5 separate regions of the Homo sapiens genome follow, and regions 1, 2, 3 and 5 are each linked to region 4. Evidence: promoter capture Hi-C in 16 types of primary human blood cells and fetal thymus (Javierre and others, 2016). All regions are on one chromosome and are shown on one strand. Each heading gives the region's core, a stretch centred on a gene start or on the middle of the fragment in contact. The rest is flanking DNA. Distances are from core to core; before and after follow the strand shown.

The links. The method cuts DNA at HindIII sites, captures the fragments that hold promoters and counts their contacts. A CHiCAGO score of 5 or more calls a contact.
Region 1: a fragment that was not itself captured here is called in contact with the fragment with the promoter of UGGT1 in region 4 in 2 of 17 cell types (total CD4 T cells and naive CD4 T cells); the score reaches 6.6 in total CD4 T cells.
Region 2: a fragment that was not itself captured here is called in contact with the fragment with the promoter of UGGT1 in region 4 in 1 of 17 cell types (activated CD4 T cells); the score reaches 5.4 in activated CD4 T cells.
Region 3: a contact is called between a fragment that was not itself captured here and the fragment with the promoter of UGGT1 in region 4, in 1 of 17 cell types (total CD8 T cells). The highest score is 5.2, in total CD8 T cells.
Region 5: a fragment that was not itself captured here is called in contact with the fragment with the promoter of UGGT1 in region 4 in 1 of 17 cell types (total CD8 T cells); the score reaches 6.4 in total CD8 T cells.

The regions. Positions count from the first base shown.
Region 1 is chr2:127,687,015-127,692,309 of GRCh38, forward strand. No RefSeq gene overlaps it. Among named protein-coding and RNA genes, the nearest start is that of SFT2D3, 12 kb to the right of the region's middle. The HindIII fragment of the contact is 6,533 bases long and covers 1-5,295 here.
Region 2 is chr2:127,705,943-127,711,485 of GRCh38, forward strand. It overlaps WDR33 (WD repeat domain 33), which reads right to left. Exons shown (of 22, transcript NM_018383.5): 19 at 3,751-3,914; 20 at 3,548-3,640; 21 at 2,735-2,950; 22 at 1-610. The coding sequence ends at 381. Among named protein-coding and RNA genes, the nearest start is that of SFT2D3, 7.2 kb to the left of the region's middle. The HindIII fragment of the contact is 2,022 bases long and covers 2,118-4,139 here.
Region 3 is chr2:127,775,777-127,780,799 of GRCh38, forward strand. The region is part of intron 1 of WDR33 (WD repeat domain 33); the gene reads right to left. Among named protein-coding and RNA genes, the nearest start is that of WDR33, 33 kb to the right of the region's middle. RefSeq lists silencers at 465-665, 1,305-1,505. The HindIII fragment of the contact is 1,172 bases long and covers 2,914-4,085 here.
Region 4 is chr2:128,088,508-128,093,315 of GRCh38, forward strand. UGGT1 (UDP-glucose glycoprotein glucosyltransferase 1) reads left to right here and starts at 2,693. Exons shown (of 41, transcript NM_020120.4): 1 at 2,693-2,908. The coding sequence starts at 2,851. RefSeq lists an enhancer at 2,455-2,764. The HindIII fragment of the contact is 755 bases long and covers 2,461-3,215 here.
Region 5 is chr2:127,740,755-127,745,669 of GRCh38, forward strand. All of the region lies in intron 7 of WDR33 (WD repeat domain 33), which reads right to left. Among named protein-coding and RNA genes, the nearest start is that of SFT2D3, 42 kb to the left of the region's middle. The HindIII fragment of the contact is 3,666 bases long and covers 1-3,546 here.

The sequences.
Region 1 (5,295 bases), core at 1,535-4,034, 400 kb before region 4:
ATTCCAGAGCTTTCTTGGAAATTCCTTAGACTATTCTATACACAAGACCATGTCATCTGCAAATAGAGGGTAGTGTTACTTCATTTCTTCCAGTCTTGATGCCTTTTCTTTTTCTTGCCTATTGTCCCTGGCTAGAAACCAGAAGTGGAAAGAGCAGACATCCTTGTCATCTTCCTGATCATAGGCTGAAAGCATACAGTCTTTCATCATTAAACATGATTTTAGGACACACATGGTGACTCACACCTGTAATCTCAGCACTTTCGGAAGCCGAGGCAGAAGGATTACTTGAGTCCGGGAGTTCAAGACCAGCATAGGCAACATAAGGAGATCCTGTCTCTACAAAAATTAAAAAAAAAAAAAAATTAGCAAAGCATGGTGGCATGCGCCTGTCTGTAGTCCCAGCTACTTCGGAGGCTGAGGGGGGAGGATCACTTGGGCCCAGGAAGTCAAGGCTGCAGTGAGCCAGGATAGCAACACTGCACTCCAAGCCTGGGCTACAGAGTGAGACTTTGTCTCAAAATATATATATATGATTTTAGCTGTGGGTTTTTCATAAACCCCTTTACAGTGTTGAGGAGGAAGCTCTCTTCCATTGTTGGTAGAAGTCCTCTTCTGTTCTTGTTTTCATTTGTTTGTTTTATCATGAAAGAGTGGTGGGCCAGGCATGGTGGCTCATGTCTATAATCTCAGCACTTTGGGTGGCCAAGGCAGGCAGATCACAAGGTCAAGAGTTTGAGACCAGCCTGGCCAACATGGTGAAACCCCATCTCTACTAAAAATACAAAAATTAGCTGGGCATGGTGGCGCATGCTTGTAGTCCCAGCTACTCGGGAGGCTAAAGCATGATGATCGCTTGAACCTGGGAGGCAGAGGTTGCAGTGAGCCAAGATCGTGCCACTGCACTCCAGCCTGGATGACAGAGTGAGACTCCATCTCAAAAAAAAAAAAAATAGTGGTGAATTTTGTCAAATGCTTTTTCTATGTCTGTTGAAATGTCCATATGAGTTTTGTCCTTCAGTGTATTAATGTAGTGTATTACAGTGATTGATGTTAATATATTATACCAACCTTGCATTCCTGGGATAAATCCCACTTCAATGTGGTATATAATCCTTTGTATATGTTGCTGGATTAGGCTGCTAGTAATTAGTTGAGGATTTTTGTGTATATTCATAAGAGATGTTGGCTGTAATTTTTCATCCATCTCCTTTGTGCTGTTACTGTTAAATAACATTTTGACAAAATGTTGACACATATTACATTCCTATATGTGCATAGCCCATAAAAAGTTACATGCATATTTTCTTATGCAATTACTTTTTAGATCAGTTAAGAGGAGAAGAAGAAATATGCAATTATACTTTATATTGTAATTATCTACTTTTACCAACACTTTTGTTTTTCATGTGGATTCAAATTAGTTTCTGGTGTCACTTGCTTTCTATCTGAAAAACCTTAAATATTTCTTGTTACTCAGGACTGGTAGCAATAAATTCAGTCAGATTTTATTTATTTTGGAGTGCTTTTTATTTTGCCATTATTGTTGAAAGATAGTTTTGTTGGGTATGGAATTATTGGTTAACAGGTTTTTTGTTGTTGTTTTGTTTTTACTGTTAAGCACTTTGAACATGTCATACCACGGCTTTCTAGCCCCCATTGCTTCTGATGAGACATCATTTGTCAATATTATTGTACTACTGGTACACAATGAATTGTATTCCTTTTGCTGCATTTAAGATTTTATCTTTATCTTTGGCTTTCAAAATTTGACTATAATATGTCTGAGTGTGAATGCCTTTGTGTTCATCCTACTTGAAATTCATTGTTTCTCAGATGTTTAGAATAATGTTTTTCATCAAAGTTGGGGAAATTGGTCAGGCACAGTGGCTCTTGCCTTTAGGTGATGAGTAAGCTCAGGACTTTAGGAGGCTGAAGTGGGATGATCATTTGAGGCTAGGAGTTCAAGACCAGCCTAGGAAATACAGCAAGACCCTGTCTTTACAAAAAACTTGAAAATTAGCTGAGCATTGGGGTGCATGCCTGTAGTCCTAGCTACTTGGGAGGTTGAGGCAGGAAGAATGCTTGAGCCCAGGGAGTCAAAGTTAGAGTGAGCTATGCTTGTGCCACTGCCTTCCAGGCTGGGTGACAGAGCAAGACTCTTTCTATAAACATGATAATATTAATAAATTTTAAATAAATAAGCAAATAATTTGGGGAAATTTTCAGCCATTGTGCCTTCTAATAATTTTTATGTCCCTTTCTCTCACTTCTCTCCATTATTCTTATGTGTATTAGTCCATTTTTACATTGCTATAAAGAAATACCTGAGACTGGGTAATTTATAAAGAAAGGAGATTTAATTGGCTCACAGTTCTGCAGGCTGTACAGGAAGTGTGGCAGCATCTGCTTGGCTTCTGGGGAGGCCTTAGGAAACTTATACTCATGGCAGAAGGTGAAGGAGAAACAGGCACATCTTACATGGCCAGAGCAGAAGGAAAAGAGAAGGAGCAGGGAGGTGCTACTTTTTTTTTTTTTTTTGAGCTGGAGTCTCACTCTGGCCTAGGCTGGAGTGCAGTGGTGCAATCTCTGCTCACTGCAACCTCTGCCTCCCAGGTTCAAGTAATTCTCCTGCCTCAGCCTTCCAAGTAGCTGGGATTACAGGCACCCACCACCATACTCAACTAATTTTTGTGTTTTTAGTAAAGACAGGGTTTCACCATGTTGGCCAGGCTGGTCTTGAACTCCTGGCCTCAGGTGATCTGCCCCCCCTTAGCCCCCCAAAGTGCTGGGATTACAGGTGTGAGTCACTGTGCCTGGCCCAGACTTGTAAATGACCAGATTTTATGAGAACTCACTATTATGACTAAGGAGGATGGTGCTAAACCACTGGAAACTGCCCCCATGATCCAGTCACCTCCCACCAGGCCCCACCTCTAACACTGGGAATTATAATTTAACACGAGATTTGGGTGGGGACACAAACCATATCATTTTGCCGCCGGCCCCTCCCAAATCTCATGTCCTTCTGATATTTCAAAATATAATCATGCAGTCTCACAAAGTGTTAACTTATTCCAGCATTAACTCAAAAGTCCAAAATCTCATCTGAGACAAGGCAAGTTCCTTCCACCTATGAGCCTGTAAAATCAAAAACAAGTTAGTTACTTCCAATGGGGGTACAGTCATTGGTTAAATACTCCCATTCCAAAAGGGAGAAATCAGCCAAAAGAAAGGGGCTTCAGGCCCCATGCAAGTTCAAAACCCAGCAGGGTAGTCGTTCAATCTTAAAGGTCCAAAATAATCTCATTTGACACCATGCCCCACATCCAGGGGACACTAGTGTGAGAGCTGGGCTCCCAAGGCCTTGGGAAGCTCTCCCCCTGTGGCTTTGCAGGGTTCAGCCCACATGGCTGCTCTCAAGGGATGGTCTTGAGTGCCTGTGGCTTTTCCAGGTGCAGGATGCAAGCAGCCAGTGGATCTACCATTCTGAGGTCTGGAAGACAGAGGTCCTCATCTCACAGCTCCACTAGGTAGTCCCCCAGTGGGGAGTCTGTGTGGGGGCTCCAACCCCACATTTCCACACTGCCTTAGTAGAGGTTCTGTATGAGGGCTTTGCCCCTGCAGCAGGTTTCTGCCTGAACATCCAGGCATTTCCATACATCCTCTGAAATTTAGGCAGAGGCTCCCAAGCCTAAACTCTTGCATTCTGTGCACCTGCAGGCTTAACACCACATGAAAGTTGCCAAGTTTAATGGCTTGCACCCTCTGAAACAGTGGCCAGGGCCCCTTTCAGCCAGCTGGAGCTGGAGCAGCTGGGATGCAGGGAGTAGAGTCTCAAGGCTGTGCAGGGCAGCAGGGCCCTGGGCCTGACCTAGAAAACCATTCAGTCCTCTGAAGCATCCAGGCCTGTGCTGGGAGGGGCTGCCACGAAGGTCTCTGAAATGCCTTCTAGACCTTTTCCCCATTGTCTTGGCTATTAGCACTTGGGCTCCTCTTTACTTATGCAAATTTCTGCAGCCTGCTTGAATTCCTCCCCCGAAAATTAGCTTTTCTTTTCTACCACATGGCCAGGCTACAAATTTTCCAAACTTTTACACTCTGCTTCCCTTTTAAATATAAGTTCCAGGTTCAGGTCATTTCTTTGCTCACACATATGAGCGTAGGTTGTTAGAAGCAGCCAGGCCAATCCGTAAACACTTTGCAGCTTAAAAATTTCTTCCACCAGATACCCTAAATCATCACTCTCAAGTTCAGAGTGCCACAGATCCCTAGGGCAGGGGCACAACACCACCAGGTTCTGTTGCGAATATGTAACAAAGGTTATCTTTGCTCCAGTTCCCATTAAGTTCCTTATTTCCATCTGAGACCTCCTCACCCTGGCCTTCACTATCCATATTACTATCAGCATTTTGGTCACAACCATTTAACCAGTCCGTAGGGAGTTCCAAATTTCCCCTCATCTTCCTGTCTTCTTCTGAGCCCTCCAAACTCTTCCAACCTCTGCTCATTACCCAGTTCCAAAGTCACTTCCACATTTTCAGGTATTTTTATAGCAATGTCCCACTCCTCAGTACCAATTTTCTATATTAGTCCATTCTTGCATAGCTATAAAGAAATTCCAGAGACTGGGTAATTTATAAAGAAGAGAGGTTTAATTGGCTCATGGTCCTGCAGGCTGTACAGGAAGCATGGCAGCATCTGCTCAGCTTCTGGGGAGGCCTCAGAAAACTTACAATCATGGCAGAGTGCAAATGGGGAACAGGCATGTCTTACATGGCCAGTGCAGGAGGAAGAAACAGGGAGGGGGGAGGTGCTACACACTTTTAAATGACAAGATCTCACAAAAACACACTCACTATCACAACCAAGGGGGATGCTAAATCATTGGAAACCACCCCCATGATCCAATCACTTCCCACCAGGCCCCACTTCCAACATCGTGGATTACAATTTGATATAAGAGTTGGGTGGGGACACAAAGCTAAACCATATCAATATGCTGGTGCACTTAGTGGTGTCCCATATTGCTCTGATGCTCTGCTCATTTTTCTTCATATTTTTCTCTATTTTTCAGATTGCATTATTTCTACTGATGTGTCAAGTTCACTGATTCTTTTCTCTGCCAACTCAAATCTACTGTTTATCCTATCCAGTGAATTTTTCATTTTGTTTTTGTTTTGTTTTGTTTTAGAGGTGAGGTCTCACTATGTTGCCCAGGCTGTTCTCGAACTTCTGGGCTCAAGCAATCCTCCTGCCTTAGCCTCCCAGAGTGCCAGGATTACAGATGTGAGC
Region 2 (5,543 bases), core at 1,879-4,378, 380 kb before region 4:
TCTGTATTCATACAAAAACTTTGTTTTTCTCTGACAAACTGTACACATAGAAACAAATTTCCAAATGGACAGGAACTTAAATTTGTGGAGATGCCCCATGTCTTGTGAGACTTAAAAAAAAGAAAAAGATCCCAGCTTTTATCTTCACAAAACAACATGGGAGTTGGGGCAATGAGGGTGGACAGGACAGGGCCAGCCAGGCTGGTAGCTGGCAGCAGTCTCTTCATCTTGAAGACCTCATTGAGGGTTCCTGGGATTCAGGTGCCCAGAAAAGAGTTCAGGGCTACAATGGTGCAGGCTTCCTTTTGTTTCTCTTGGTGAGTCCACAAGAAGTTCTTACATACTGTCCAGAGAGGCCTCAGGGTACTCAGTTCCAGCTTCTACCGACCCCTTCCACCACCCCGTGAAGCTCCTCGCCTCGGCGGGCCAGAGTTCATGTTACTCCCTCTACCCCAGTTACTGCCACTCCGGCCCCCTCGAGAAGGGGTGCCACTGCCTGGAGGGCCCCCAAAAGGTTCATCTCTGTGGTATCCATCGTGGTGCTCTCCGTCTAAGGAGCTGGAACGCCCAGATTTGGGCACTCTCTGAGCAGGTCCTGGGCCCCCTCGGCCTGAAACAAAGAAAATTTCACATGGGACTTTTTGTATTAGCAACTGTTTGTCAGTAACTCCCAGTACAAACTTTACTCTCTGATGACAATGGACCAGTTCTGGTGGGTGCCAGGGAGACTGGCAGTGGTATTCAGCGTACTGAGAGGTGTGCCTCTACCCTTTCCTGACCCTGCCTCCCCCTTCCTGGCTCATGGCCATGGGCCTCAGCATCAGCCAGATCCATGCCCCCAGGGCTGTGTGACAGACGACAGGAAGCCAAGAGATGAGCAAGGAGCACCTTCAGGGAGACCCGGGCCACACTGGGCCATGTCCCAGGCCATGGGAAGTGTATCTGCCTGCTCCCAGCCACCAGGGTATATTGAGGGAAGGTTTGAATATACTGACTTAACTTTGGAAGTACACACTGCTAATGTTAATAAAAAGTGCTCCAACTAGGACAAGCGTTCACTGGGACTGTCCCGTGACATGTGGCACTTTTGGCTTCCTTTTCATAATTAGTAAAATAAAGTATTTCTTGAAAAAACAAAAGAAAAGCACAAAAACCCAAAAACCCCACAAAACACTGGCTTTCAGGTTCTATCACCGAGGCACAGCTTAACCTGCTTCAGACTAGTATGCACAAATGTTTAGGTACTATTAAAATTCTTTCATTCTGTTGCAGCTTGAGAATATATTTAAAAAAAAAAAAAAAAGAAAAAAAAGAAAGGAAAAGGAAAAAAAATTCTATCTTGTAAGATTTTTTTCCTCAGGAAATGATAGGATTTGGTCACATCTCCCATAATGCACTCTCAGAAGATGACTGCAAACTCTCCGCTGTCTCATATTTTGTAATAGAATATGAATCTAGCTGAGATGAAGTTAGGAGAGCCAGCCAAAGGAACAATCTTGGCTTCTTTTCTTAGAAAGTGCAGCTTCAACCCACCTGAGGCACCTGGGCAGAGTGTCAGCTACTACATCATTCCCATGCTAACTGCATGTCCTTGACCAGAGGGACCTAATAATGGTGTGCTGAGTGCCCAAGAAAGTCAGCCAAGGTCACAGCACACTGGCTAGTAGTACAATGTGTTTATGCAGGGTGATCTATTGATGATACATAAGGTAATTTCTGAGGGTTTTGTTGAGACAAACAACTATCAAGATCAAATGGCAGGCCAGGCATGGTGGCTCATGAGAGGCCAAGGCAGGTGGATCACTTGAGGCCAGGAGTTCGAGACCAGCCTAGCCAACATGGCAAAAGCCCATCTCTCTAAAAACACAAAAGCATGGTGGCGCACACCTGTAGTTCCAGCTACTGGGGAGACTGAGGCACAAGAATCACTTGAACCTGGGAGGCGGGGGTTGCTTGCAGTAAGCCAAGATCACACCACTGCACTCCAGCCTGGGCGACAGAAAAAAACCCAAAAAGACCAAATGGCAGAACTCTGTACTGGAAGGACCGTCCATACAGACAGGCCAACTTCAGGAGCAGAGCACAAGCTGGGGCATGCGGGGAGCAGCCTTCCCAGAAGCTTCCGAGCCACACCACCTATGCACCTCCCCCGCTGCCTTGCAACCAGAGTTGTATAGTCAGCCTTCAGAGGCAACTACTCCTGGCTAAAGTTAGTGCTGCCTATAACATAAAGCTCCACAGTTCCCAGTTGAGGAGATAATCTACTGTGCCCCTGGAAACACTGCCCATAGACCATGTTTCCCAAAGTCTCTGTGACTTTGAGCACAAGCAGTGTTCCTCTAGACCCAGGCTAAAAAAACCAACAGACCACCCAGGAGAGGACAACTCTTCCCCTCCCACTGAGAGCCCTTGAGGGTTCCAAGCAGCCTTGTGGAGGGCAGACTGCCAAGGAGAGCAGGGCTCCCAGACAGCAAGCCGAGCAGAGAGTGCTGGGGCATCTTGGCAGAGGGCTGAAGTGAAAACCTCAAGTGAACAGGGATTCCCGGAGGCAAGTGGAGTCCTGTGCAGGGCTGAGTTGCAGTCCACCAGATGACAGCTCGTGTGGCACTGGCACCACATTTAGGAGCATGTGCCTCTGCACAGCCCAGGCTGCAAGGGCATGTGCAGCAGATACAGGCAAGGCCTCCATCGGCCCCTGCATCTCCTGGAACCATAACCACTGGCCTGCTCTTACCTTTGCCTCCTCGGTCTTCAGAAGGGCCTCCTGGGGCCTCCATCTCTCTGTGCTCAGAAGTGCCTGGGCCATCATGCCAGGGGCGCTTTCGGGGAGGTAGGGATGCCATGTCCATGCCTTGGAGAGAAGAGGAGCGTTCTCTGCTGGCTGGGGAATGACCGTCGTGAGGGGGATGATCAGGGCGGGGAGTATCACGAAAATGTTCATGACCTGGCCCTGAAACAAGAAACAAATCTCCTTACAGGAAAGCACAGTGTGACCAGAAGTAGATGGGAATGACACTGTGAGAGTAAGGAGCAACTCGAGAGCCACCGTTCACTCATGCTGAATGCCCGCCAGAGGCCAAAGGGTAAGCCACCCAGACATCAGGGTGCCTCCTCATGTAAGAGGGGCAGGTAAGATCCAGAGAACTCGTTCTCAGGCATTGTAGTATCAAGACGTCTTTACAGTCTCAAATTACTGAGGACTCCTAAGAGATTTTGTTAATGAGAGTTGTAACTGCGAATATTTACCATATTAGCAATTGAGACTGGGGAAATTTTAATTCACTTAACTTTATTCTCCAAAAGCAATTTAGTGGAAAGAGCAGTCCCGTTTTATACTCAGATAGATCCCTGTAATGTCTGGCGGATTCCTCTGCTCTGCATTCCACCTGCTGAGATCAAGTGCTGCGGCTGCAGGACAGGAGACAGCCCAGCCCCCCGGGAGACATGAGCTGGAAAGAGGAGACCCGGTGCACCCCAGAGAGGGCCCTCAGAACTCACTTTGTGAACTGCAGTCTAGAGTTACCCAACAAGCGGTTCTTTTCCTTACCAGGCTCTCTGTTTCCATCCCAGGAATCTGGCTTCCGCCCTCCTTCAAAGCGAGGGAACTCGTCAGGAGTGGGAAGTAAACCCTTCCTTCCTCCTACACAACAGAGCAAACAATGCTGCACTCAGACTGTTCCTGGTGTATTCACAACCAGTGTATTCTGCACCCTATCCTTCCAGACCAGGTGTCTTTAGTAACTCGCTCACCTCGTGGGGTACCCCGACCTCGACCTCTGAGATCTCGTCCTCGGGCCGCTTCCTCAGAAGCATCAAAATTCTCCTCTGGACCAAAGTCTTCAGGACCAGGAAAACCATCCCTTCCTCTGGGGGGAGCACGGCCCTCATGCCTCGGCGGGGCTCCTCTTCTGAAACTGTAAAGAGAAAACAGCAGAATGTCCATCTCAGAGAACACCTTGCCACTCTAAGTTCATGTTTCAAAGAAGCATATGATATGAGAAAGCATGATACAATGTTAATTGGGAGGAAAACAAAATAAAACTATATATTTTTGAAAGGATACATTATATAATCCTATTAATACTATCAGAGGCAAAAACAGACCAGAAGGAAACACACCAGAGTGTGGAGTTACTTTAAGCTTCTTTTAGGCTTTTAGGTATATACAAGTATTACTTCATTTCATTCATTTCATTTTCACAGCCACCATATGAAGCTGGTATTATCAGCAGTTCCACTGATGAGAACACTGAGGCCCAGATTGCTGACATCATTTATTCAAGGACACAGAGTAAGTGCTGGTGATCTGAACTCAGCCAGTCTTGACCCTCGGCCCAGGTTCTGTATCACTGCCTCACAAATACTTATCATTATCATCTACATTTGTATGATGAACATTTATGACATATAATCAGAAAAATGGGGGCACAGATCGTGTCTGCCAACCATACTGGACCTGTCTGTAGGTAGGGGCTCTGCCATCTGCCCCAGCCCACAGCCTCCACCCAGGGGCAGGCCTCCATGACCACGAGTGGCACTCATGGCCCGAGTCCACAGCTGATGGGCACACAGGTCAGCATCTGGTTTACAGGCAGCGATCCACTGGCTAGCTGGCAGTCTGGAGCCCTGCTTAGTGAACAGCTTCCCCTTCTCTCAGGAATTTTGGAGCCAGGAGACTACACTGACTGGGAGTATTGCTGAGGCAGAGAGGGTACCAGGAGGTCTGTGCGAAAGAAGAGAAAGTGACCTTCTGGCAGCGCTCACTGAGAGGCGGTGGCGCCACCCTGCAGGGCCCCTCTGCATGAGCTGCATGGCCTCCTCCCAGGCCAGGCCTCTGCTCTTCCTCAGGTTTCCATTCCATTGCCTTTATCCTAATCTTCTACTTGGAAGATTTTCAAACTTACAGTAAAGCTGAAAGAACAGTACAATGAACATCCCAGATCCTCCACCCAGATCAATCCCTTCTTAATATTTTGCCACACGTGCTTTATCTTCTCCGTCCAGCTACTCACAAACATGTTTTCTAAACCATTTGAAAATCAGTTGCCAACACGAGCTTTACCCCTAAATCCTTCAGTCCATTTCTTCTAAGAACAAGAACTTTCTCCTATATAATCACAATACCTTTACACTCTCACACACCAGCCTAGGCTATGGGTCTGCACTGACAGATGAAACACAATACAAATCAAGACAGGATGGCCGGGCACAGTGGCTCACACCTGTAATCCCAGCACTTTGGGAGGCCGAGGCAGGCAGATCACTTGAGGCCAGGAGTTCGAGACCAGCCTGGCCAACATGGCTAAACCCCATCTTTACTAAAAATACAAAAATTAGCTGGGCGTGGTGGCGCGTGCCTGTAATCCCAGCTACTCGGGAGGCTGAAGCACAAGAATCGCTTGAACCCAGGAGGTGGAGGCTGCAGTGAGCCGAGATCATGCCACTGCACTCCAGCCTGAGCGACAAAGCAAGATTCCCTCTCAAAAAAAAAAAAAAAAAAAGACAAGGTAAAATGTAACATTTTGCACAAGATGCAGAGATTC
Region 3 (5,023 bases), core at 2,250-4,749, 310 kb before region 4:
AACGGGTTCTGAAAAGGGGCTTTTAACTTTTCCTTGAATGATCAAGTACCAATGGTGTTTCAGAAATAAAGGTCAAGAATGAAGAAAACGAGAAAAAAAAAAGTACAATTATATCTGAAACAAACATCCAGCCTAAAATAAAATTAAAACAAAAAATCTCTTCACAATACAGTGACCAGGCTCCATCTATACCTTATACACTTCAGCTTCACATCCTGCAAACTATAAAGTTACTTGGCCAAAATCACAACAGTCTTGGCCGCTGTTAGGGGCTGAAATGTGTCCCCTCAAAAATTCACAAATGTAAGTCCTAACCTCCAGTACCTCACAATGTGATTCTATTTAGATTTAGGGCCCTAATCCAATCTAACTGGTATCCTTTTAAATGAAGATTAGGACACAGACAACACAGACAAAAGAATGACCATGTGAGGACAGAGAGAGAAGACAGCCATCTAGAAGCCAAGAGGAGAGGCTCTCCAGGAACCAGCCCTGCTCACATCCTGATCTCAGACTTTCAGCCTCCAGAACTGAGAAGATACATTTCTACTGTTTAATCCACCCCCGCACCCAGTCTATGGTATTTTGTTATGGCAGCCCTAGCTAAGAGAGTGGCAGTCAAGGCAAAATACCTCCTGACTCTCCTTCAACAGAGGTTGACAGAAACATTGAGCAATCACAACTGTAATCCTAGCACTTTGGGAGGCCGATACAGGTGGACTGCTTGAGCCCAGGAGTTCAAGACCACCCAGTAAGACCCTGTTTCTACAAAAAACACAAAAATTAGCCGGGCCTGGTGGTGCACACCTATAGTCCCAGCTACTCAGGAGGCTGAGATGGCAGCCTGGGAGGTCAAGGCTGCAGTGAACCAATGTTGCACCACTGCACTCCAGCCTGGGTGTCACAGTGAGACCCCATCTCAAAAAAAGAAAAAATATTTGAGCAAAAATGATACAATAGCTTTCTCTGAGAGCAGAAAACTTGACATGTGAGGCTGAAAAGTTATTGACCACGACAGAAAGAACCAATCCTCAAACAAGTCATTACAACTATCCTCTACGCTTTACTTGGGATTATACTCCAAAGATCTAGATTTATGACCAAACACAGAGAAAGCAGAGCTTTGTCCTTTATAAAGGTAATTAATGTGATTTGTACTCACTGCAGTATTGACTTGAGGTATGCTAACAGAACAACACAATTTAAAGTACTTAGTCCCCAAAACATACTCATCTTACATCCAGGGTGGAGAGGGAGGAGAGACAAAGAGTTTGGGAAAGGAGGGTGCAAGAGAGAGGAACTGAGGTAGAGAAAAGACAAATAATTTGCCTATTGTTGAATTCAGTATACACTAACAATACAACCAAATTGCTAAGGACAAGAATCTGTGTGAAACACTGAATTCATCATGCCTTTCTCCTATACATAAACCTTCAATGTTTCAAGCAATCAGCACAGTTTTATCAAGAGCCTACTTTACATGCATACACTGCCTCAGGTACAGCGCACAATTCTGATTCACTAAATATCACTCCTAATTTCGCAGAACAGTAGTTTTCAGACTTTGTGGTGCCTGGCCCCCTCTCTATTTTTAGCATATATAAAGATCCTGAGTACACAAAAGTTTGCATCGCATCCTTAGCCTTAGGCTTTCAACTGCTCAAGAAAACCAGGAAGGCCAGTCAATTTCTCCATTATTTTCTCAACCTGTAAAATGAGTTCCATGCCTCAAAAATATTATTTTGCATTAAATTTGTATCTTTCAACAATGTGGTGACTATACTATTGAACAGAATGGAACACTCAGACTTAGTGTGTCAATGTTTGTATGCACAAGTCTATACCAACGTTATAATTCTGCTTTTTTGAGACAGGGTCTTGCTGTGTTGCTCAGGATGGAATACAGTGGCACTACCACAGCTCACTGCAGCTCAAGTGATTCTCCTGTCTCAGCCTCCCAAGTATGTGGGACTACACATGTGTGCCACCTGGGCTCAGCTAATTTTTTTCATTTTTTGTAGAGACAGATCTTGCTTTGTTGCCCAGGCTGGTCCAGAACTCCTGAGCTCAAGCGATCCTCCCACCTCAGCCTCTCAAAGTGGTGGGATTATAGGCATAAGCCACTGCACCTGGTCAATTCTGCTTCTTGTCCCAAATGCTCACAAGATAACTTCTTGTATAATCTTAGTCATGTGATGATACTGAAATTATAGCTGAAGATAAAAGTTAAAAATGAGCCGGGTGTGGTGGCTCATGCTTGTAATCCCAAAACTTTGAGAGGCCAAGGCAGGAGGATCTCTTGAGGCCAGGAGTTGGAGACAAGCCTAGGCAGAATAGCAAGACCCCCATCTCTGCAAAAAAATTTTAAAAAATTATTGGCTGGGTGCAGTGGCTCACGCCTGTAATCCCAGCACTTTGGGAGGCCGAGGTGGGTGGGATCACCTGAGGTCAGGAGTTCGAGACCAGCCTGGCCAACATGGCAAAACCCCATCTCTACTAAAAATACAAAAATTAGCTGGGCGTGGTGGCTGACGCCTGTAATCCCAGCTACTCAGGGGACTGAGGCAGGAGAATCGCTTGACCCCAAGAAGCAAAGACTGCAATGAGCCAAGATCATGCCACTGAACTCTAGCCTGGGCAACAGAGCAAGACTCCATCTCAAGAAAAAAAAAAAAAAGAAAAAAGAAACAAACAAAAACAAAAAAACTGATGAGCCCTGACTACCTGCCAGACAATGAACACACACACACACACACATTCTGTTCTCAAGAGTCTGACCGTTTCTCAGTACAGAAGAGCTCAAAAGAACAATGTGAGAAGTTACTACTACACTGAGACACTACTACGCTGTGTGAGAGGCACTATTACAAGGGATATAGCACAGGAAACTTACAGCACCAATCAGCCTTAAGAAGCTTAAATTCTGAGTAAAGTGAGGGAGGCAAGGGCAGGGGGTGTCAGGGGAGAGACACTTGAGAAAAAAAAGTAAATAAAGCTCTCTAATTCACTCAGCATACCAAGGCCAGCATAATTTTTCCCCAACCAAACATAATTCAAAATAATCTTTCACCAACCAAATTTCTGACTACCATTTGAATTATTTTACCATAATAGATCTCCAACTAAAACACATAGGAAAATGACCTAGCTAGCACTCAACTAATTCCTCAGCTTCAATACAAAATGAATTTACTGAATGCTTCATACAAATGAGTAAAAAGAGTTTTAAACTAAGATTCCTGGGGGTAGAGCGAGGCTCTGGCATCAAAAAAATGCTGACATGAAATATCATGAATGAGCCTAAAGCGGTGCTTTTTCTTTAAACCAGAAATCACATCCCATTGATGGTTCCTGAAATCAATGTGGCTGACAAGCAGCATTATTTTAATAATTAAAAAAAAAAAAAATAGGGCCAGGGTGGTGGCTCATGCCTGTAATCCTAGCACTTTGGGAGGCCAAGGCAGATGGATCACTTGAGGTCAGGAGTTCGAGACGAGCCTGGCTAATATGGTGAAACCCCATCTCTACTACATACAAAAATTAGCTAGGTGTGGTGGCGCACACCTGTAGTCCCAGCTACTTGGGAGGCTGGGGCAGGAGAATAGCTTGAAACTCAGAGGCAGAGGTTGCAGGGAGCCAAGATCACGACACTGCACTCTAGCCTGGGCAACAGGGCGAGACTCCGTTTCAAAAAAAAAGTTAAAAAAAATAGAACATATGATAGAACTGCGCATTTGAAAGAACTGTTTTTGTGCAACTACTGTTTCTATTGTGTTTGTGTGTATGCATACAGGGTCACAATATTTACAAAGTATTTTCTTCCTAGGAATCTGTCAATTGAAAGCCAAGGGCTTGCTGTTAGTAACACTGTGAGGTATTCCCTTCCTGTGTATTTTCTGTTTATTATCACCTAATGTCTGCTGCCACTGCATATCCATAGCCAAAGAAGATCACATATAGCATCTGTCCAGTATGAATACTGTGGCTGATCACAGTAGCTATGGTACCAGAATTTGATCCAATTATCAAATCCAACAATTCCTACCATGTCAGCCACTAATCAGAGCTTCCAATCAGAACAAGAAAGCTTGTTTTCCCAAACTGAGATAACAGAATTCTAACCAAAAGCAAATTATTGATGCATTAACTAGCTAGCAATTCATATAGGACTTTTAAAAATAATAAAAAGGTTTTTTTGATTTTTTTTTTTTTTTTGAGACGGAGTCTCGCTCTGTCGCCCAGGCTAGAGTGCAGTGGTGCGATCTCGGCTCACTGCAAGCTCCGCCTCCCGGGTTCACGCCATTCTCCTGCCTCAGCCTCTCGAGTAGCTGGGAATACAGGCCCCCGCCACCACGCCCAGCTAATTTTTTGTACTTTTAGTAGAGACGGGGTTTCACCGTGTTAGCCAGGATGGTCTCGATCTCCTGACCTCGTGATCCGCCCACCTCGGCCTCCCAAAGTGTAAAAATAATAAAAAGTTTTAAGATTCCCACCTCCATTAACACTCCTGACCCCAGGGTCAAAACCTCAGCCTGGAAACCTGTTTTAGATTATTTATGTATAGTCCACTAGGTTCTAAGATAATCAATCTACTCTAAAAGAAATTTGATACCCAATCTGTCATTGAACTTTGAGGGGATCTTCATGAGCGGCAGGCTAGACCAGTAACAAAATGATCAACATGCTCTTTCTCTTCATTGTCCAACTTTAATTAATATGAATCCTGAAAAATCAGGAGAAATTACATGGAGACCATTCAATCTGTTAAAGAATAATCAATGAAGCTGTTTAAATAAGTAGGTTTTGGCCAGGCACAGAGGCTCATGACTGTAACCCCAGCATTTTGGGTGGCCAAGGTGGGAGGATCACTTGAGGCCAGGATTTGGAGACCAGCCAACACAGTGAGACCCTCCTCCTTCAAAAGTAAACTTTCACCTCCAGTCCCGTCTACTCAAAAGGCTGAAGCAGGAGGATCCCTTGAGCCCAGGAGTTTGAGACTGCAGTGAGCCATGATCACACCACT
Region 4 (4,808 bases), core at 1,443-3,942:
TTGTGGTGCTGCAATAGTTGTGGGTCTTCATTTTGGCAGTGGTTACACAAATGTACAGACATACACAAAATGATGGAAATATACCTGTCTCCCCCACACAATGTACCAAGTCAATTTCTGGTTTTCATACTTTAATATAGATATTTGAAATGTAATCATTGGGGGAATGGGCTTAAGGGTACAAAGTACCTCTGTGTACTATCTTTGCAACTTCTTGTGAATTTATAATTATTTCTAAATAAAAAGTTTAAAAAATTTTTTAAAATCTGTTTTTATTCAAATAAGGTAGCACTTTTCAGAGAAAGGTTTAGAAAAGGTGAAATCCAACTTTCCTAGAAGCTCTGTGCTACCACTTAGCTGTATTTTAAAACTAAGCAAACTTTGGTTTTGTTCATGGATCACATAGCAGAAGATCAAGATAAGGCCAAGAAAAAGTATATAATCAACTTTGTAATGAGGTGAATTAACAATTTCCTTTTTATTGAAGCATTAGCTGATGTGATTTAAAGAGGGCTAGAAAATACACTATGGAAAGCTAACACAACAGCTCCCTTGTGAAATAAATTTTAAAATGCTCATGTTTTTTTCTTTTCGTAGGTGTGTGTACACATTTAGTTTTATTGTAACAAAGCAACTTGTACACTTTTAACATTTAAAACTGAGCATGATCTTTCCTTTCCAGTGAAACAAAATTTAAAAATAAACAGGAACAAAATTACAATAGAGAATGTCAATTCCAAATAAGATCCTAGAGGTTCTGCTGATTCTCCCACTGAGTGGCAGGGCTCAAGTCATCATTAGGAGAGAATTTATTTTAAAAGCGTCATCTTAAACTGCAAGGATGTGTGTCAAACATCGCAATTAAACATGCCAAAGGAGAAGCCATGTTGTCAAAATGTCCGCTTAACCCACCCAAACATCTCAGACCCACCCTTTGCTGACTTCTAGAATCCCATTTTTTAAAGTTTTTTTCTTTTTTTAAACAAGAGAAAGTAGACAGAAAGATGTTGGTAAATGCTAACTGTCCATATTCACATAGAGACCCAGTGTACTCTCCGAGCCCAATATACAGAGAAAGCAGGAAGAAAGCTAGAATTGAATGCTCTGCTACACATGGGCCTAGAGCCCTCCAGCTTCCAGCAGGGCGAAGGGAGCAGGTTTTTCTTTTTTCCCACAGAGCTGGGGTGATGTTGATTCTATACAGTTTTTGCTCAGACAGGAAGGGATAAAAATGAATTTCGAACAGAAAGGGGTAGAGACTCTTTTCCCATTGTATTCTGCTGAAGTTATTTCCCCCAAAATAAGTTGAGAACTATAGTGTAGAGAAAAGAAACCTCAAGAACAGGGCGACTGAGCACAAGAGAGAAAAAACAAAAAACAAAAAAACAAAAAAACTGCAACTTGCTCCCAGGGACTGGAGAAAATGTAAAAAAAGGAAGGTTGGAATCCATCAGTGTTTTTTTGCTGTTGTTGTTGCTGTTTTTTTTTTTTTTGAGATGGAGTCTCCCTCTCTCGCCCAGGCTGGAGTGCAGTGATGCGATCTCTGCTCACTGCAAGCAACCTCCGCCTCCCGGGTTCACGCCATTCTCCTGCCTCAGCCTCCATCCTCAGCGTGAGCCACCGCGCCCGGCCTCCATCAGTGTTCCATTAGTCATCTCCTTCATCCTCCTCTCCTTCCTCCCCTTCATCATGTTGGCTCATGTTTATTTATTAAAATTATTTTGGGCCGGGCGCAGTGGGTCACGCCTGTAATCCCAGCACTTGGGAGGCCGAGGCGGGTGGATCATCTGAGGTCAGCAGTTCGAGACCAGCCTGGCCAACAGGGTGAAACCCTGTCTCTACTAAAAATACAAAAATTAGCCAGGCGCGGTGGCGCACGCCTGTAATCCCAGCTACTGGGGAGGCTGAGGTGGGAGAATCGCTTGAATGCGGGTCGGGGGGTTGGGGGGTGGGGGGCGCGGGCGGGGGCGCGGAGGTTGCAGTGAGCCGAGATCGCGCCACTGCATTCCAGCCTGGGAGACAGAGCGAGACTCCAACTCCAAAAAAATATTTTTGGCTTTTCATTCACTTTGACTTAATATACTTAAAAATATACCCTCCAAAGAGGTATTCATTTTTGGGTGGGTTAAATGCTACCTATTCCAAAACAATTTTAAACTGGTTTATATTAGTTAAAAAAAAAATACTAAAAGGACAAAGTAGTCCCTGTAGACTAAGCTGCCGCTGTCCGAATAAGAAAGCTCAAGCGGCTCATAAAATTTAAAAAGTCTTCCTTTCATCATGCCTCCTGGAAGGTAGCTATCAAAATTTTAGGGTTTAGTATAAAGTCTAAGATGCTCAGAAACATTAAGACAATTGTCCTTACTGTGCCACCGAAAGGCTAAAGGGAGTAAGCTTTTAACAAAGGTTTAAGGGAGTAAGTCCCAGAGTCCAAACTGGATTTCACCGACTGACTGTTGAAGCTTTCGGGTCTCAGCTGTTGGCCCAACGAACCTTCCCAAGACCTTGAAGACCGGCAGCCTACCCGCCACCCTGAAAGGCGGAAGTGAGGAGAGAGGCAGGACTCCCCCCTCCCCAACCCTCGGAGATGAGAGGGCGACCGCGCGACGCTCTGGGCTGCTAGGTCTCGACTCGGTATCCGGAAGTCCTCCAGCGTTCGCCTGCAGGAAGCGGAAGTAAAAGGGCGGCCGGCAGCTGGGCAATTGCTTTGCGAGGCTGGGTGTTGAGTCGAGCCGCGGGAAAGGCGCGTGTCGGCCTCTCACTGGCGCAGCCTGCACTGCCGCTGCCGCCTCGCCCCGCCCTGCCCTGGCGTTGTCTCTGGCACTGTGGCGGACTGACCACGGCCCGGGCATGGGCTGCAAGGGAGACGCGAGCGGTGCGTGTGCCGCGGGTGCGCTGCCGGTGACAGGTACCCAGGGGTGGCGTGAGGAGGCCTCGTGGACAAAGAGAGGGTTTGGGGCACAAGGCGACCCTGTGCCCCTGTCACATTGAGCTTCCGCCTCTACCGTGACTCAGTTTACCCTCTGGTGTCCTATCCCTTCCCCTATTCGCGAGCGCCCCGAGTTGCCCTCAGTGGTCTTCTTGGCAAGGTATCGCTTCCGCGGGGGTGGCGGCGGGCTCTGTTCAGCGGTCTTGAACCTTCTTTGAAGAGCTTTAGATCCTTGTGCCAAGTGCAGAAGGAAATGGGGGAGGTATCCTACCATGGATTTAGACCAAGCTTGATCCTCAGTGAGTTGAGAAGCAGCACTTTGCAGGACCCTGATTGCAGAACGACGTGCTTTTTAAAATAGATTTCAATTTTTCCTAAAATGAATTCGGGTTGATGCGTATTGGTTACTGTTTTCTTTTAACACTGTGATCTGTTGGCTGGAAATTGGATGATATGGTTTCACTTTTAGCGTGGGACCTGCCAGAATGAGATCTGCGTCCGTCGCCAATAACTTATAGATGTGAACTGTTTTTGTTCCTTGGCCAGAATCTGCAGTTGTTTTGCATTTCTTGCCAGATTTGAGAAGGAGCAATTTTGTTCGTTTGAAGTCCTGGGGTCTTTTGCCTTATTGTGCTACACTAACTGTTTTGGAAACATTCATTGATGTACTTGCCAGCCAATTTTAGTGTAAAGTGCCCTCTTTCCTTCAAGAATCTTACACTTGCAGGCGTTTGAAGACATTTTAAATAGCTATTTAACAGCACCACAAAACTTGGAATAATTGTAGCCTTTTCACTTTGCTTTTTTTTTTTTTAAGCCAGTCGAATTTAGCAACACTTGACTTGCTTTTGATAAACTTAGCTGAAGCTTATTTTAAAAAAATTCTTATTTATTTATTTATTTATTTATTTTGTAGAGATGAGGTCTTGTTACCTACCAGTCTGATCTTGAACTCCTGGCCACATGAAACTTATTAAAGGAAGTGACCATAATACTTTGTACAGTAGCATAGCACATTTATAATGCACATTGAACTTCAGGGGAATATATGAAAGTAAGAAGAAAATTTGCTTAGAACTTTCCTGCAGCTGTCTGTGAGCATTTTCTTTTTTTATCTAAGTTTCCCTGTAACAATACAAGATGATGTGATAATTTTCTTTCTTTCTTTCTTTTTTTTTTTTTTTTTGAGATGGAGTTTCACTCTTGTTACCCAGGCTGGAGTGCAATGGTGCAAGAGATAGTGTTTTAATTTATTTTTTTATTTTTTGTTGGTGAGGCAGAGTCTTGCTCTGTTGCCCAGGTTAGAGAATAGTGACATGATCTTGCTAGCTGCAGCCTCCACCTCCTGGGCTCAGGTGGTCCTCCTACCTCAGCCTCCTACGGATGGTTGTTGATAGTTGGGCCTAGAACTTGTTAAAGAGTGTTTTCTGTTTATTCATCATGCCGCAAGTATAATGCTTATCATGCAAAGCCACATGGCACATTCTGTTGGCCATTATCTCAGACTGTTTGTCTTTATAAGCAACATTTAAGAACCCCTAGGGTCAGAATGATAAGGGATCCTATAAAATGAAGACATACTCAAAGCAGAGACCACTTCAGTGAGATTCTTACGTCTGCTTCTCTGGACAGTCTTTTCCTCTGGTTTTACCTGTAGAGTTAAGAATGTGGGGTCAGAGTGGCAAAGCTCTTTTTTAATGTATAGCTTTCCTCCTTTTTTCATCTCAAATGGTGCTGCATCTCTCCCCAAGAACACGTACTCTCTCTCCTTTTTGAAAACAGTGTAGGGGGATCTCGAGGCAGGCCACAGGTTCATAGGATTTTCATTTTACCTATCTTGCAGTCCTAGGCATTTTATAGCATCTTCACTCTTGGTGCC
Region 5 (4,915 bases), core at 464-2,963, 350 kb before region 4:
AAAAGGGAATTGTGCTTTGGAATAAAATCATGATTTAATACTAAGTAAAAACAAATATGCAAGCCTCTTCCTAAATTACTTTCAAAGGTTTGCAGAGGATGAACTTATTTCGCAAGACTGACATATGTTGGCTACAAATTTTAGGAAATTTTGAAAAAACTTCAACCAAAAAGTGGCCATTCTCTAAAAACAGATGGACCCTACCTATGAATAAACCAGAGTAGAGAAAAATGAAACCCAAAATACATAGACTGTAGTTGTCAGTGACAAAGGTTGTGGCAAAGGCTCAGTGACAAAGGCTGTGATGAAGTAATGAGGGTAATTATAGGGAGACTTGTCCAGGTTGTCCCTCCTGACTTCCTGTTTCTGTAGAACAGATGCTCTCAGTCAGACAAAGCAAATTATACAAAGCACATTTGTTACAAAAAGCACATTTCAGTCTGGGAAGAAACCCTAGAGCAGGATTTGAGGCTGAAGAGTAAAGCAGCACAAAGTCTGCAGAAATGCCACGGATGACACTGAAAATGGAAAGAAGTGGAGGGCAAAGAGAGAATGGGAGAGGAGGAGAAAAAGAGAAAAGAGAAGGGAGGGAGGAGAGAAAGATGGCAGTTCCACTTAAGAGTGGAATAAACTTAAGCACTCCACCTCAGAGTACAAACCACAACCCACTTACTTGATAAATGTGGCAGTGGCCTGTGCTTCTCCACTCACTTCATTAAACACACACAAACATGCACGTGTGTACACATGTACAAGCACACACACAGACACACGAATCCACAGTGAGATCTTCCATCCAGGAGAGGACCCTTGTAGGTAAGCGAACTTAACTGCAAAAAAATGCAAGATAGCTACTTATACTAACCAATACAAACCACCATTCAAATCTCTGGACAACCAAGGGTCACTGCGTTATTTGAGAAAAAGCAAGTACCAGGAAAGAGAAAAATACAGATTATATGACTTTAGGGAAAACAAACAGGAACAACAGATCAAACCAGACATCCACACAAACACCCCAATTACTATGTTAAAGGTTTTAAGGGGTATATTCCTTAAAAACAAACCAACTACAAAACAGGCTTCCTTGAAAAATGAAAAGATTAGAGAACCACTAGAAATTCTTGAAAAGTAAACATGCAGTTGATAAAAATAACACTTTCCGGCTGGGCACGGTGGCTCACACCTGTAATCCCAGCACTTTGGGAGGCCGAGGCGGGTGGATCACCTGAAGTCAGGAGTTCAAGATCAGCCTGGCCAACATAATGAAACTCTGTCTCTACTAAAAATACAAAAAATTAGCCAGGTGTGGTGGTGGGTGTCTGTAATCCCAGCCACTCCAGAGGCTGAGGCAGGAGAAACACTTGAACCCAGGATGAACTTGGGAGGCAGAGGTTGCAGTGAGCTGAGATCGTGCCATTGCACTCCAGCCTGGGCAACAAGAGCGAAACTCCATCTCAAAAAATAAAAATAAATAAAAATAAAAATTTCGGCTGGGCACAGTGGCTCAAGTCTGTAATCCCAGGACCTTGGGAGGCCAAGGTATGTGGATTGCTTGAGCTCAGGAGTTTGAGAACAGACTAGGCAACAAAAAATTAAAACTAAATAAAAATAAAAATAAAATTAGCTATGCATGGTGGCTCACACCTGTAGTTCCAGCTACCAAGGAAACAGAGGTGGGAGGATCGCTTCAGCCCAGGAGGTCATGCCTACAGTGAGCCATGATTGCACCGCTGCACTCCAGCCCAGGAGACAGAGACCCTGTCTCAAAAAAAAAAAAAAAAAAGGGAAGAAAAAATCACCAGAAGGGCTGAAAACCAGACTGGGCATGATTGAAAAGTAAATCAGTATTCCAGGAGACAAACAGAAATCTCCCAATACTTAGAGAAAGGGCAGGAACACAAAACATGTAAGAAAAAATAATACTAGATAGACAGCTCCAAACAGCCCAACAGTCATCTCCTAAGAATTCCGTAAGACAAGCAAAGACAATGGAAACAATCATCAAAGAAAGAAAAATCCTTTAAATGGAAAAAAGATAAGACTGCAGATGACAGTATGCCAAGAAAGATGAAGTTTAAAATATGTATACCTATACTCACAGTTAAAAAAAAAAAAACAAAAAAAAACACCCCTCAGAGAAAAGAGATCATTCAGAAAACATTCAGAGAGGAAAGTCAAGATATATATAAAATAATGAGACTCAGGATTATATTTGAGTTATCAGTAAAACTGATGGAAGATAATGAAGGACGTAAAAATTCAGAAGGCAAAGGATTTCAAACCCCAAACTATGAGTCAAGTATGATGGTAATTAAATACCTTTCCAGACTCAATAATTTTGATTTACCTCCTAAGCGCTATTTCTGAGAAAAATGTTTGAGGATTTTCAACTGAACTGGGAAAAAATAAAAAAAGAGTGGACTTAAAAGAATGCCTTCAAAAACAAAAACCATTTACTCAAATTGAAAAATTAAAAACCTAAAAATTTGCTATGATAAAGGTTTTAGTGACATTGATTTTTAAAAACAGGAAAGGTAATAATAAATTGCAAGACAAAAGTGAATTAAACTATGGCATTATTTTCAACAGTTGACAGCATGACAGACTTAATACAAAAGCAGCATACTTGATCTTGACACTGTCCAAGCAGAACAACTTTTCATTAACTACCACAAGATTATCACTCTTTCTGCAAGGCCCCATTATACTGCTTGGTTCTGTTATCAATAGTATCATTCATAGCAGAAATGCTATCTTTTTTGTTCTCATTGTTTAGAATTTTAAAATATGAAGAAAACAAAAGTAGCCATAATTCAAGAACAGAATAAAATTGGCTTAAAATCCTTGACAATTCAGAAGTAAAGGAAGACAAACGGCAGAAGTGGAAACACATTGAGAGGCACAGATTTCCTTCTGTAACCTAGTGGTGAGCCAAGGAATATTGGCTAAAGTTGGCAGTCCCCTTAAAAATAAAGGTTTAAGAACATTTAAAGCTATAAAGAAAACCACTGAAACTACAATTCATTATGACAAAAACGAGGAGGTAGGAGGCATGGTTGGTGGTGTGAATAACACTCAATTCCTCACCTTTGATGACAGAAAGAGGCACTACGTCAGACAGATATACCAAAATACATATTATGTGAAATTCTGATGACCACAAGAATAGAAACAATTAGTTTTAAGAAACTACCTCTGGGGAGAGGTAAAGGATTGGCAGATTTTTAAATTTCATATTCCATCCCTCTATGGGGCTGGAGGAAAGACTTTTTACCATGTGTGCTTATTATTAGTGATTTTTAAAAATAAGGTTAAATATTTAGGTGGTGACAATTTCCTAAAATGTTAATCCTGTGTTATTTTCAGTTTGGCTAGATGACAAGAACTTTCTTAAACTTCATCGTTGATGACTTCCTGGACAGTGAAGACAACTCATCTTCCAAAAGTTTAAATGTTCATACCCTTTGCTCCATTGAGTTTATTCTTAGGAGTCTAACCTAATGGAAAATTTACGTAAGTAACACAAATATAAAGGTATTAGGAAGCTTAGTGCACAACTGTGTCTTGGCAAAAACTTCTTGCAAATCCCAAAGGCCTATCAGTGAGGAATAGTTAAATAAATTACAGTAGATACATGCAGTCAAAAAGACTGGGGTAGTAATGATGCAGAAAAATGACCTTAATATACAGTATAGTGAGAAAAGCAAATAGCAAAAGAATATACGTAGTATAATCTCCTTTCATGTAGTGATTTTTAAAAGCATCTTTTTGTATATGTATAGGAATTCTAAAAAGATATACACCAAGCTTCAACAGAACAGTGCTTACCTCTGGATGTGAAATTGGGAAATAAGAGGGGAAAGACGTTGACTTTTTACTTCTAAGTGAACCTTTTATGAATGTTTATTACCTTTGTAAAAGGCAGAAGTTCTCAAGAAAAACAACTCTTAATCCCACCCAATTCTTTCCTTACCTTTCCACCCTTACATTCCCCAGTACTCTTCCACCACAGATCTCAGGCTTCCATATGGCATATTGTGTAGGTGTGAATACACCTTCATCCTGCACTTCATATTTTTTCAAGATATTGTAAACCTACCAAAAAGTACTGTCTCCAATTCTTACTTCCATGCAATTCATAGAATATACCTTTCACCATGCATGACTGATGAAAAAAATGCATCTCAGTGTTGCATTTGGTCTTCGGCTTGATTGGTTAGAGAATGGCACTGCTAACGAAGCCAGGTTGCGAGATCCCCATATACATCAGTTATTGTTATGCAGTCAGCTTGCCTTTGTACTTATCATCTTCCTGATCACAGGACCAGATATAGAAGGATCAATGTAAATCCATTTTAACTAGTGGAAACACTTCTTTAAAACGCATACTGAGAGCGGCCTTCAGTGGCATAGTTGTTGTATTCTGAAGAACACATTTGTGTAAATGTACGACCCAGAGTTTATTTGTTCAACCCAGTCAAGCATATAAAAATCACATAACTGTGCTATCGATCCTTCCCAGAGAGAATTCTGGTTAATCAGATATCTGCAGCAGCATTACTGCCTCTGTGCTCTTTGGGACCAGTGTGATGTTGGAATACATGGGACCACGAAGTTCCCAGTGTCTGGTCTGTACTTCTCATCTTCAACCAACATACTGAACACAAAATCAAAGAAATATGGCGGAGTGAAGGTTTCTCACCCTTAACTGTATTTAAACAATGGTTTTTCTTTCATGATTCCTTTACAGAAACAGCAACAAAGAAAATCAAAGACTGAAGAAAAACAGATTAAATGAGGACTTGTGAAGCAACCAAAGTGCTGGTTATATAAATATTTCTAACAATGAAGTATCTGATTTTGATCCAACTTAAAATGACTATTAAAAATGTCCAAATAAACAGCTCATACC